Linked DNA regions of Homo sapiens: region 2 is linked to region 1. The links are contacts of gene promoters, found by promoter capture Hi-C in human tissues and cell types (Jung and others, 2019). All regions are on one chromosome and are shown on one strand. Each heading gives the region's core, a stretch centred on a gene start or on the middle of the fragment in contact. The rest is flanking DNA. Distances are from core to core; before and after follow the strand shown.

Region 1 (5,541 bases), core at 2,239-4,738:
CACCACCGTGGGGAGCGGCCTGGAGGCAGGAGCCGGCCTGGACAGAGACACAGCTACTTGATTTGCCAGCAAACGAGGCTTTTCATGCCCATGGAAAAACCTTGACTCCTCAGGATGTATCCACGTTGAGTCCAGAGCAAAGGAATTATTAAAAAAGATCTGTCGAAAAATAATGCAAGCATAACACTGAAGGCAAGGTGCATGATAAAAGCTGAGCATGACCATGAAAATATTTGTGTTGCCTTACGTTGATCCAACATTGAACATTCTATTATTGGGGACTCTATAAAACCATCATTCTAAAACTTAAAGAAGTTCCACAGGGCTTCAATACCGATCACCATCTAGCTAATGTCTTCTGGGCTGGCCTTCAACTATTGACTTGGTCACTTCAGCCCAGCAGTTCAGTTCACTGATTGAAGAATCACCCCAATGAGATAATGACTAAGCTGTATGACAAGTCAATACTTTACTTCTTTAGTTTCCTTGTGAACAAAATGTAGTCAGTAAATTTGAACCCGAAAGCCAAAACAAACCATTAGAAAGATGAAAACTTAAAGCATCATATGAAGAAAAACTGACTTTTAAAACTTCAACTGGTATTGTGTAATGTTCAAGTCTAGATTTTTGATCAATGGATACAAATTTAAAAACAAAAAAATTTTAAAAAAGACTCTGATTCAAAAATTGGAAATTTTACATTGCCCTGTGGAATCCAAATATCCTAAACTAAAACAAAATGCCCCCCACCAGCTGATATTTTTGAACAAATCAATCTAATCCTGAAATGATTTATTTCTATACCTAGATGGCCAATTTATGGCAACAAGAAAATACATGGGTATTTTTGTTGTTATGTCGATGTTCGACAACTTAATCATTAAAAGCCCCTTATCCAATTAAATCACTTGCGTTTTTACCTTACAGTTAGGAATCCTTTTGTCTATCCAACTTTTCCCAATAGGGGTTGCAAGAGCAGAAGGGCAGAGATGTGGGAAGACGGGCACCAGCTCCACTGTGGAAGAGGGGGGCAGTCCTAGGGACGGAGAATGGCCACCAAACAGCCACTGCAAGCCAAGCAAGAAAAGACAGCTGCATTAGCCTGAATCCATCCACTCGACTTCATGCCAAAACATGCTGGAATAACTGCTTTGAAAAGGGAATTTCAAAATGTATGTATTTGATTATCAGATAAATTTCCTCGAGAAAAACTATAAGTATGTACCAATCAAAGAAAAAATTATAGAAGTTTTCATATCTGAATCATCACAAAGCATTACCAACATTGCATTCTTCAATACTGAAAAAGAACTTCTAAGCACAAAACCACAAGCACGCAGTAAGAAATGGGTTTCTGCTCTGAGATAATGAGAAATCACCATGAAGAAGAGAAATGCTGGGTATTCCTTTTCTAATTCTTAAATTATTTTTATAGGCAGGCTTAGGGCTATATTTTATAATATTCCTTTCAGCATTGCATTTTGTATTAATTACTTTTGTCGTTTTACAAATAACTAATACTTTCAAAATGAAAATATCTAGGAAGTTAAGATTCCAAGTTTCACCAATACAAGGTTCACCAATACAAATAGATTCTATGGCAAAAAAAAAAAAAAAAAAAAAAAAACTAAGCATCTTCTAAGTTGAAGATCTCAATACACAGAATAAAACATCAGTCATGGAAAGGGGCTGGTAATTCAGGGCACCGTCTCTCTAATTAAAATAACTGAGACCTCATAAGGCACTAATAAAATGCATTGCTCAATGACATGGAACGTTTCAGTACCTATTGTTTTAAAATCGTAAAAGCATTTGTGATGTTCCTGTTACATGAAAATGTTCTTCTGGTTGTACATATTCTTACTTTACAGAAGCTGGGTAGCACAAAAATATTTAAAAGATTAATGCTAAGGTTTTTTAAATTTTCTTTTAAATTTATATAAGTGAAAAAATGCAGTTTTTTAAAGCAGAATTTAAAAAATGTAGTTCCTTGACATTATATACCTCTAGTGGCAGCACTCTGATATAACACCCCTCCAAAATACGGCAAAAACTACCAACGTTTCTTGAATAAAATCCAAAATAAACTGCATCACACATAAAAATACAATATCCAGTGCTGCATATGTGATGTATCATTAAGTCTAAAGACCAATTTAGCAGGAGTTTAACAACATCTTTTAGAAAAGCTCACAAGATAATATTGGAATTAAATTAATCAAATGGTGTATTCTAACATAACACCCGTTTGAATATGCTAATGAGGTCAATCCTTGGAATAAAATGCACGCTATTCCCTGATTTAAATGCATCTGCATAGTTAGCTGACAATGAATCTTGCCCAAACCAGCCCGCCTAGCTCTGCTGCACCATTTATCAAAGGTTCAGTCACTTTTTCTTTTTAATCCCATGTCTTAAAAGCCAAACTCTAGTTCTAAAGTGCAGTGTGGCATTAGCGAATGTGGTGGACTCCGGCAGGCCTGGGGCAGGGGAATCTCCGGTAACATCCCTCAGTACCGAAGGCAGGATTTCCCGGCCACTTCCGTCGGTTGGAATTCTCTTAAGCATTGCCCTGAGTCTATTTTCAAATGAAAGGGGGAAAAACCCAAACCAGATTAGAATCTGAAACAGCTGAAACAGCTATCGATTTCCAGCTTGCTTTCAAGTCTGGCAGAGACTGTGAAAGTCCTAACTTCTCCGCGATGTCAGCCACGGCCCGCGGCGGTCACGGAGCCACTTCAGCACCTCGCGATGGACAGTGACCCCCGGCGTGGCGCGAGTTCCCTGCGGTCCCCACGCGGGCCTGGGCGGCGGGTCCCTCCACGGCTCCGTCCAGACACCCGGAGGCACCTGCCAAAGCTGCGGAGGTGGACGACCGGGCGTCCAAGCACGAACTTTCTCGCCGAGGCACGGCTGCCGGGCTCCGTCCTGAGGGTTTGGGGCGGCGAGGACCGCCGGGGAGGAGGGCGCGCGAGCCGGAGGCCAGAGCCGGGCCGGGCAGGGCGCGCCCAGGAGCAGGGGAGACGGCGACCCGGGCCGAGGCGGGACGGGGACACGTTACCTGCCCGTGGAGCGCGGGGAAGGGGTGCGCGGCGGCGGCGGCGGCGGAGTCTGGCGCAGAGGGCAGCGGCAGCAGCGGGAGCACCGGCTCGCTCGGGGCCGGCCAGCCGGGGAGACCGGGGAGCAGCGGGGCCGCGGGCGGCGGGGCCGAGGCGAGCAGCACCGGGGGAACCACGACCCCCGCGCTGAGCCGGAGCAGCCCGGCCGAGCCCGGCACCATCCAGACCCAGGGCGGCGGCGGCGGCGGCTCTGCGTCCATCGGCCAGAGGAGAGGCTGCCGCCGCCGGGGCTGCTGCTGCTGCAGCTGCCGCCGCCGCCGCTGGAACCTGGCGCCCGCCTGCATCCTACATCCCCGCGCTGACGGCGGCGGCGGGGGCGGCGGGCGCCCGAGATGCTGGGCCGGCGGCGGCGCGGCTCCGGAGCGAACTCACTTGGCTCCGCGGCGCGGCCGCTCGCTCCGCCCCTGCCCCGCGCGGGAAGCTCCTCCTCCTCCCGCCCGCGCCGCCGCCGCCCCCGGACCCGGCCCCCGCCCCGGTCCCCGCCCGCCCGCGCCCCTCCCCGCCGGACCCCGCCCCGCCCTCGCGCTCCCCGGCCCTGGCCGGGGTCTCCTCCCCGCTGCGCCCCTGGACCCGGGCGGCCGCGGAGGACGTGGGTGGGAGAGGGCCGAGGGCGCGCCCGGCTGGGCTCCCGCCGATGCCGGCCCCCTGGTGGCCTCTGGCCCTCTGGGACCCAGCGCACCGCGAGGGAGGCTCCGGGCTCCGCACTCAAGGGCAAGCGGAAGCCGAGGTGGCGGCGCCGGAGCCAGGCATGTCCCGCTGCCCAGCGCGGGGCTGAGGGCGCAGACGGGGACCGCGCGAGCCGCTCTCTACCTGGCCTCCTCGGAGTCCAGGGCGCGGAGGGTACTGGGCTGCGGATCCGGCGCAGGCGGCCCCGGACGCTGCTAGGCGCGGGCGGATTTCTGTTGCACAAATGGGCCAAACAGGTTCGTAAGGCCCCCGCGGGTCCCCTGGCCCGGAAGTTGAGCCGCGGGTGCCTGGTCTGAAGTTCCGCGCCCCACAGTGGCCCGCGGGCCTCGGCGGCTCCTGCCCTACGCCCTCCAAGGCACCAGGCAGGTGGCCCCAGGGCCTTTGCCCACGACACCCCCTGGGTGGGGCAGGACCACCCCTCTGTGAATTCGTCCTGGATGCCCCCAGGCACAGTCTGTACTCCTCCCTCCCCCAGCACACGCGGCCTCTGACGCTGCACGCCGAGCTTCCTGGGACCCAGGACGAACCGGGCTCCAAGGACCCTCGCTCCGCCCGGACCACACGCAGGCAGCGCCGGCCGAGCCGAGCCTGGGTCCGCACTGGCCACGCGCAGCCACCGCCAGACGGCGCTAGCCCTCCCCCGCTGTAGACCCTGCTTCGGAGGCCGCCAGCCTCCTCCCCATCCCGGGTCCACAGCTTCAGTGCAGCCCCTGGCGACGCGCGCTGACAGCTGGGCAGAGACTTCCGTGCGCTGTAAACCCCTTAGGTCGCTAAACCCAGGAAACCCAAGCACAGCTAATGCCAGCGCGAGACCAGTGTTGTTAGAGGCATTTGAAGGGTCTTTCTGGATGCAAAAGGCAGCATTATGATCCATGCATTTAAGAACTTGCATGAAAAACCCTCCCTGACCTGGGTGGGAGAGCAGGCACCCACCCACCCAGCGGCACTGACACGCCTGGTACTCCAAACCCGTGTTCGCATCACCTCCCACCTGTCCACTGCCAACCTCCTGAGATGGCCTAAAGCACCCGAGTGCTTTTAATTTGCGTCTAGGGTTGTTTCCTCATTATCCTGATTTGCTTAATTTCCTCTTGGCCTGGCCTGATTTCTTTTAGATCTGGGCATATGCTGATTTACATAGCTGGCGCCTCCATATTTTCCTCCACGAAAACCAGTTTTCAATTAGCAAGTTTATCTCTCTCTTTGATGCAAAAGTACTGGCATTTTTTTTATTCACCTAAAATCAGAAAGCTCTGCACATTAGAAGGCTGTTACTATTCACTTACACCCTTAATTTATGTGCATATATTAGTATGTGCACATGTGTTATAAATGTGTTAGTTTAATGGTCAGAGCCAGATCAGGATATTGGGGAGGCGTCTCCAGGCAGGCTCACATGCCCCTGCCACCCCCCACCTCCCCCACCGCATAGTCCCTTTTGCACAGGAGATTCTCCTTCCTTCTGCTTGGAGGCAGAGACAGAAGGCCAGGGGTGCTCGTGCCTGGCTTGCATGCTGTTCTCTGCAAAAGCAGGGTTTTGCGTGTGTGGCCCCCAGGTTCCTGGGAAGGTAGGGTTGGCCACAGTCTGTGGGAGCTGTAGCACTCCTTTGGGGAATCCCAGCCCCATCCCCACTGTCCTAGAAAGGGTTCTGCTGAAGTCCGTTTTTGCCAGCACCCCTCCGGGCTTCCTGATGCTCTGAGCTCAGGACCCCTTGAGCCACTACTTGGCTCTGAA
Region 2 (5,541 bases), core at 1,198-3,697, 73 kb after region 1:
CACACTGGTGACCCCAGCCTCGCCTCCACCCCAGGCCTCCCCAGGGCCCACCCCAGAGTCACACTTCCCTCTCCCTGGAGCAAACCCAGGCCCATAAGACTTCGTCTTTATGCAGCCCAGGTGAAGGTCAGCGCCGTGGGTAAAGGTCAGTGCTGCAGGGATGCTCGGGAGCAGCGGGTGCCTGAGCCCCTAGGGAAGCTCTCCCTCTGTACTTCAGGGCCACCTTCTTACCATGAACTCAGAGAAAGTGCTGGTGCAGCTGCCACCTTTGGGGGATGTCAACACCCCAGGGAGTATTGGGCCAGTCTCTTGGTGGACTGTCTGAAACAGGTAACGCAAGCACCAATACCACCTCCTTTTTCACTATTTCTAATGTTAATGACTCACTGGTAAAAATTTAAAAAAAAATTTAAATGAAACCTCGCACAGTGTTGCATTAGGTCCCTGTCACTGTAACACATTGCCACAAACTCAGTGTCTTCAGAAACACAAGTGACTCCCTTCGAGTCTTGTAGGGCAGAGTCCAGTGTGGGTCTTCCTGGGCAGAGTTGAGGCTCCAGGGCGGAGTCCACTCCATACCTTTTCCTCCTTCAAGGGGTTTCCGGGATTCCTTGATTCATGGCCCCATCCTCCACCTTCAGAGCAGTGACGCTTATCCCTCTCACCTCCTGGGTCACCTCCCTCCCTCTCACCATCCTGGTGGTCACCTCCCTCTCTCTGACCTGCCTGGTGGTCCCCTCCCTCCCTCTGACCTGCCGGGTGGTCACTTCCCTCCCTCTGACCTGCCTGGTGGTCACCCCTCTCTGACTCTTTTCTGCCTCTCCTTCCCCTTTTAAGGACCCTGGTGATTACACTGGGCCCACCTGGATGATCCAGGCTCATCTTCTGACTTTAAGGGCAGTTAATTAACCATAGTAATTCCATCTGCCGCCTCAAATTCCCCACTTCCGTGGAACCCAACTTATTCACAGGTTCTGGGACTTTGGAACAGGACGACCTTAGGTGGGGGACATTATCCTGCCCACCACAACTATTAACTATTAAAACATAACAGATGAATGTAAACTGGATGGTACAATGGGAAATGTTCAGTGTTTCTTTTGCGAACTTTTGGAACAAAAGAAAATAATCTAAATGAAAATATTTATTTTGACAATTGTATTTTTAGGGTTTATGCCACATGCTAGAAATAAAGGTGATGAGCCAAAAATAATAAAATAAAATCCATCAAAGGCAGGTTAAAGTCATCTGTCCAAATCTTTTGGTGTCAATAAATTGTTCCTTGTTTCGATTATAAAGAGTTTCACAGCAATTATAAACATTTAATAAGGTATGGCCCATTATAATTCCTGACTATAAACCAATCAATGAAACAAACCAGACTGTGTCCCAAAGCCCTTATTCCACATCGTCTTCTTACTTGTCTTACAATAGCAGGCCATCCCCAGATCCAGGAGGGAGGGAAAATGTGAGCAGGTAGAGAGTGCCAAGGAAACAGGGTGACCAACCATCCCCACGTGCCTGGGGCTGACCGATTCCCGCACGCCAGGCTTTCCATTTTAAAACCAGGAAAGTCCCAGGCACACTGGGACCATCACTCACCTCATCCAGGCGTGAGAGTCCCCACACGGCTTTGAGAATTAGGACGAAATAGAGAACTGTTTGATTCTCCCTCAAAATGTGATCACACCTACCAAATCCTTCCTACGCAAATTGTCCCATCTCCTAGAAGCTTCCCAATAACCCATGAGGCCATAGCAGCTCATTTCATGAATGGGGAGACAGAGGCCCAGAGCCACATATCTGGCATATAGCAAAACTTAGAGCTCAGCCCAGGCCTGTCTGGTCCCAAAGCCCACACTCTTCACCTCCCCACTCAATGGCTCTTTCAGCAGTTGCCAGCTATGGATCTGCTGTTTGTTCAACCTGCACTGCGGTGGCCAGGGACTGAAGTGACTCAGGGTGGTGCTCATATGTGCGTGTGTGTGTGTGCCAGTGTCGGAAGGAGTATTTACTTTGAGTAGCATTTCTCTTCTCTCCTCAGTGTTATTTAGAAATTTTATAAAAATTTTTCATAGTGAACACTCTCTAATCTTAAGCTGTAGCCACCAAAACCAAATGCAGTGTGCCTCCTTCCAGAAATTGTTTGCATCTTGTGTTTTTGTTTCCAGACTCGGAGCTGGAGTCTGCAATTACACAGCTTTGCAGACATGGAGCTGAGCCACCTGAGCTTGAGCTCTTGTGCACATTCTATTTGGGTTTTCCCAGAATGTCTGAGGCCTTTGCTACAGATACTGTATGTCTGAGGCTGAAATGGTATCCTGCGGAAAAATAAGCAATTTGAGTACAAGGTGTATTGGAGTTGAGGGGAAATGGTCAGATATAAATAAACACAAAGGGAAAAGAAAGGCATAGAAATTGAAAGCTTAGAATAATGTATAACTATTAAAAGATTCTGAAAAACTCATTTTATCTATTTAATAATCTCTGAGGTAAAAGCGGAGGATAGCAGTCTCCAGTTGGAATTACTGGCTAATGTTATTCATAGCCAATCGTTATCAGCTGCCATCCAGCCCCATATTTTCATATTCTGCTAAAGTCTTCTTCCATGCAAACTTGGGAAGCAGGGTGATTCTTGTCCCACCTCACAGGCCACACAGAAGAGTCAAGAAGAGGTTTTTAATCAATGCGTATTAAGCTGGGAACTTGACTGAGGTCTTCATCACTGCTCAATCCTGCCTCTATGACTATCCGGAAAAAGTTAAAACTCTCGCTAGAGCTAACCAATGTGAAATGTTTCTAAGTGAAAAACGCTGCATAACAACGGTGTTTCAGCAGCATGTTCGGAGCCAGGGGCTCTGTGGGGGACGCTGACACTCCCACTGGGAAAGCCCAGGGCCCTGGAGAACCAGCCAAGCACTCACCTTCTCTCCAGCCTTCGCTCCAACACGCACAGGGGATAAGTCAGGGAATTCCAGGAGCCTCCAGGGGCTCTGACACTTTCATTTTCCTGACAATGTTAAAAGCCCAGGTGTCTAAACAGACACAGACCCATCCATGCATGAAAACATACACACATACAAACACACACTTAAACATATGCACACATACACATATGCACACACACACAATCTGTTTTCAAGTGTATAAGTCCCAGTAAACATACACATATACGAACACACACTGAAACATATGCACATGTACACGTATGCACACACACACACACAATCTGTTCTCAAGTGTATAAGTCCCAGTAAAACAAATTACTTCATGTCAAATATGATTTTTGACCCATAAATAAAAATAAATCCTTATCTTATTCTTGTCTTTTTTATTCTCCCAATGATTACTTTAAACTCCCCTTTTTTTTAATATCCTATTTGGCTTGACTTAAGGAATTCTGAAAAGCTTGCTGCTGAGGGATTCCAGAAGAGTCACAGATGGTTGATGTAATCAACTTCACCCGTTCTTTCATCGTTGGTTGTATTGTGTGGTTTTCCTTCCACTCTGCATGTCTGTGGAGCAGACAGAACTCATGGCCTGGAAAAGTCACCAGAATTTGTTTTTACACCAGCAAAGCACAGAGGGAGGGGCAAAGGGAGAGGCCAAAGGAGGAGCAGAGAGAAAAGCAGAGGGAGGAACAGAGGGAGGAGTGGAGGGAGAAGCAGAGGGAGGAGCAAAGGGAGGAGCAGAGGGAGGAGCGAAGGGAGGAGCAGAGGAAAAAGTGGAGGGAGGAGCAGAGAGAGAAAAAGAGGGAGAAGCGGAGGGTGGATCGGAGGGAGGAGCAGAGAGAGGGATAGAGGGAGGAGTAGAGGGAGGAGCAGAGGGATGAGCGGAGGGAGGAGCAGAGAGAGGAGTGGAGGGAAGAGTGGAGAGTAAGGCAGAGGGAGGAGCAGAGGGAGGAGTGGAGAAAGGAGCTAAGGGAGGACTAGAGGGAGGAGCAAAGGGAGGAGCAGAGGGAGGAGCGAAGGGAGGAGCAGAGGAAAAAGTGGAGGGAGGAGCAGAGAGAGAAAAAGAGGGAGAAGCCGAGGGTGGATCGGAGGGAGGAGCAGAGACAGGGATAGAGGGAGGAACAGAGGGAGGAGCAGAGGGATGAGTGGAGGGAGGAGCAGAGAGAGGAGTGGAGGGAAGAGTGGAGAGTAAGGCAGAGGGAGGAGCAGAGGGAGGAGTGGAGAAAGGAGCTAAGGAAGGACTAGAGGAAGGAGCAAAGGGAGAAGCAGAGGGAGGAGCAAAGGGAGGAGCAAAGGGAGAAGCAGAGGGAGGAGCAAAGGGAGGAGTGAAGAGGAGCTGAGAAAGGACCAGAGGAAGGAGCGGAGGGAGAAGCAGAGAGAGGGATAGATGGGGGAACAGAGGGAGGAGCAGAGGAATAACCAGAGGGAGGAGCTGAAGGAGGAGCAGAGAGAGAGGCAGAGGGAGAGGCAGAGGGAGAACCAGAGGGAGGAGTGGAGAGAAGAGTTGAGGGAGGACCAGAGGGAGGAGCAAGGTAGGAGGTAGGGAGGAGCAGAGGTAGGAGAGAAGGAAGGAACAGAGGGAGGAGCGGAGGGAGGAATGGAGGGAGAAGTGGAGGGAGCAGCGGACGAAGAAGCAGAGGGAAGGACAGAGGGAGGAGCAGAGGAAGAAGCAGAGGGAGGAGTGGAGGGAGGAGCAGAGAGGGGGCAGAGGGAGGATCAGAGGGAGGAGCAGAGGGAGGAGCAGAGGGAGGAGCAGGGAGAGGGACTGAGGGTGGAGCAGAGGGAGGAGAAGAGAGATGAATGGAGGAATGAGCAGAGGGAGGAGCAGAGAGAGGGGCAGAGGGAGGATAAGAGGGAGGAGCTGAGGTAGGACCAGAGGGAGGAACAGAGGGAGGAGCAGAGGGAGAAGCGGAGGGAGGAGCAGGGAGAGGGATTCAGGGAGGAGCAGAGGGAGAAGAAGAGAGATGAATGGAGGAATGAGCGGAGGGAGGAGCGGAGAGAGGGGCAGAGGGAAGACAAGAGGGAGGAGTGGAGAGAGGATCCGAGAGAGGACCAGAGGGAGGAGCAGAGGGAGGAGCAGAGAAAGGAGAGGAGCAGAGGCATGAGTGAAGGGAGGAGTGGAGAGAGGGGCAGAGGGAGGAGCGGAGGGAGGAGTGGAAAGAAAAGCTGAGGGAGGACCAGAGGCAGGAGCAGAGGGAGGCGCAGAGGGAGGAGCAGAGGGAGGAGTGCTGGTGAAGGAGCTTCAAGGCAAAGCTGGCCCAGCACCCACCCAGCGTTAGCCCACCTGCAGCTCCCTGGGCTTCCTCAGTCGTCTCTCTTTGCCCTCACCTTTTCAAGTCTCCAGCTCCTGCCCTTAGAACAAGTATGAGGACTTGCAGGGGGCCTCTTTTTTGTGTTTTTGTTTCTAAGCGAAACCTAGCTGTGTTTTGCTGCACCTGGGTTGGCTCCCACGGTGTGCTGTGTTTTTCCCTCTTGTGATGGAAATAGCTCCTCGGCTGCAGCATAACCATGGCCCGTGGCCTGGGCCTCCCGCTGTCTCTCTTGCTCCTCTGCAGCGGCTTCCCTTGGAGACCCCGAGATCCCTGTGCAC

The links. The method cuts DNA at HindIII sites, captures the fragments that hold promoters and counts their contacts. A contact is called where the count stands out against the background at its distance.
Region 2: a fragment that was not itself captured here is called in contact with the fragment with the promoter of TCERG1L in region 1 in 2 of the 25 tissues and cell types used here (hippocampus and spleen).

The regions. Positions count from the first base shown.
Region 1 is chr10:131,308,233-131,313,773 of GRCh38, forward strand. It overlaps TCERG1L (transcription elongation regulator 1 like), which reads right to left and starts at 3,489. Exons shown (of 12, transcript NM_174937.4): 1 at 3,062-3,489; 2 at 921-1,067; 3 at 1-159. The coding sequence starts at 3,403. It overlaps LOC101927461 (a long non-coding RNA gene), which reads left to right and starts at 3,624. Exons shown (of 3, transcript XR_242763.6): 1 at 3,624-4,042. The HindIII fragment of the contact is 8,672 bases long and covers 1-5,541 here.
Region 2 is chr10:131,381,795-131,387,335 of GRCh38, forward strand. No RefSeq gene overlaps it. Among named protein-coding and RNA genes, the nearest start is that of TCERG1L, 73 kb to the left of the region's middle. The HindIII fragment of the contact is 4,705 bases long and covers 96-4,800 here.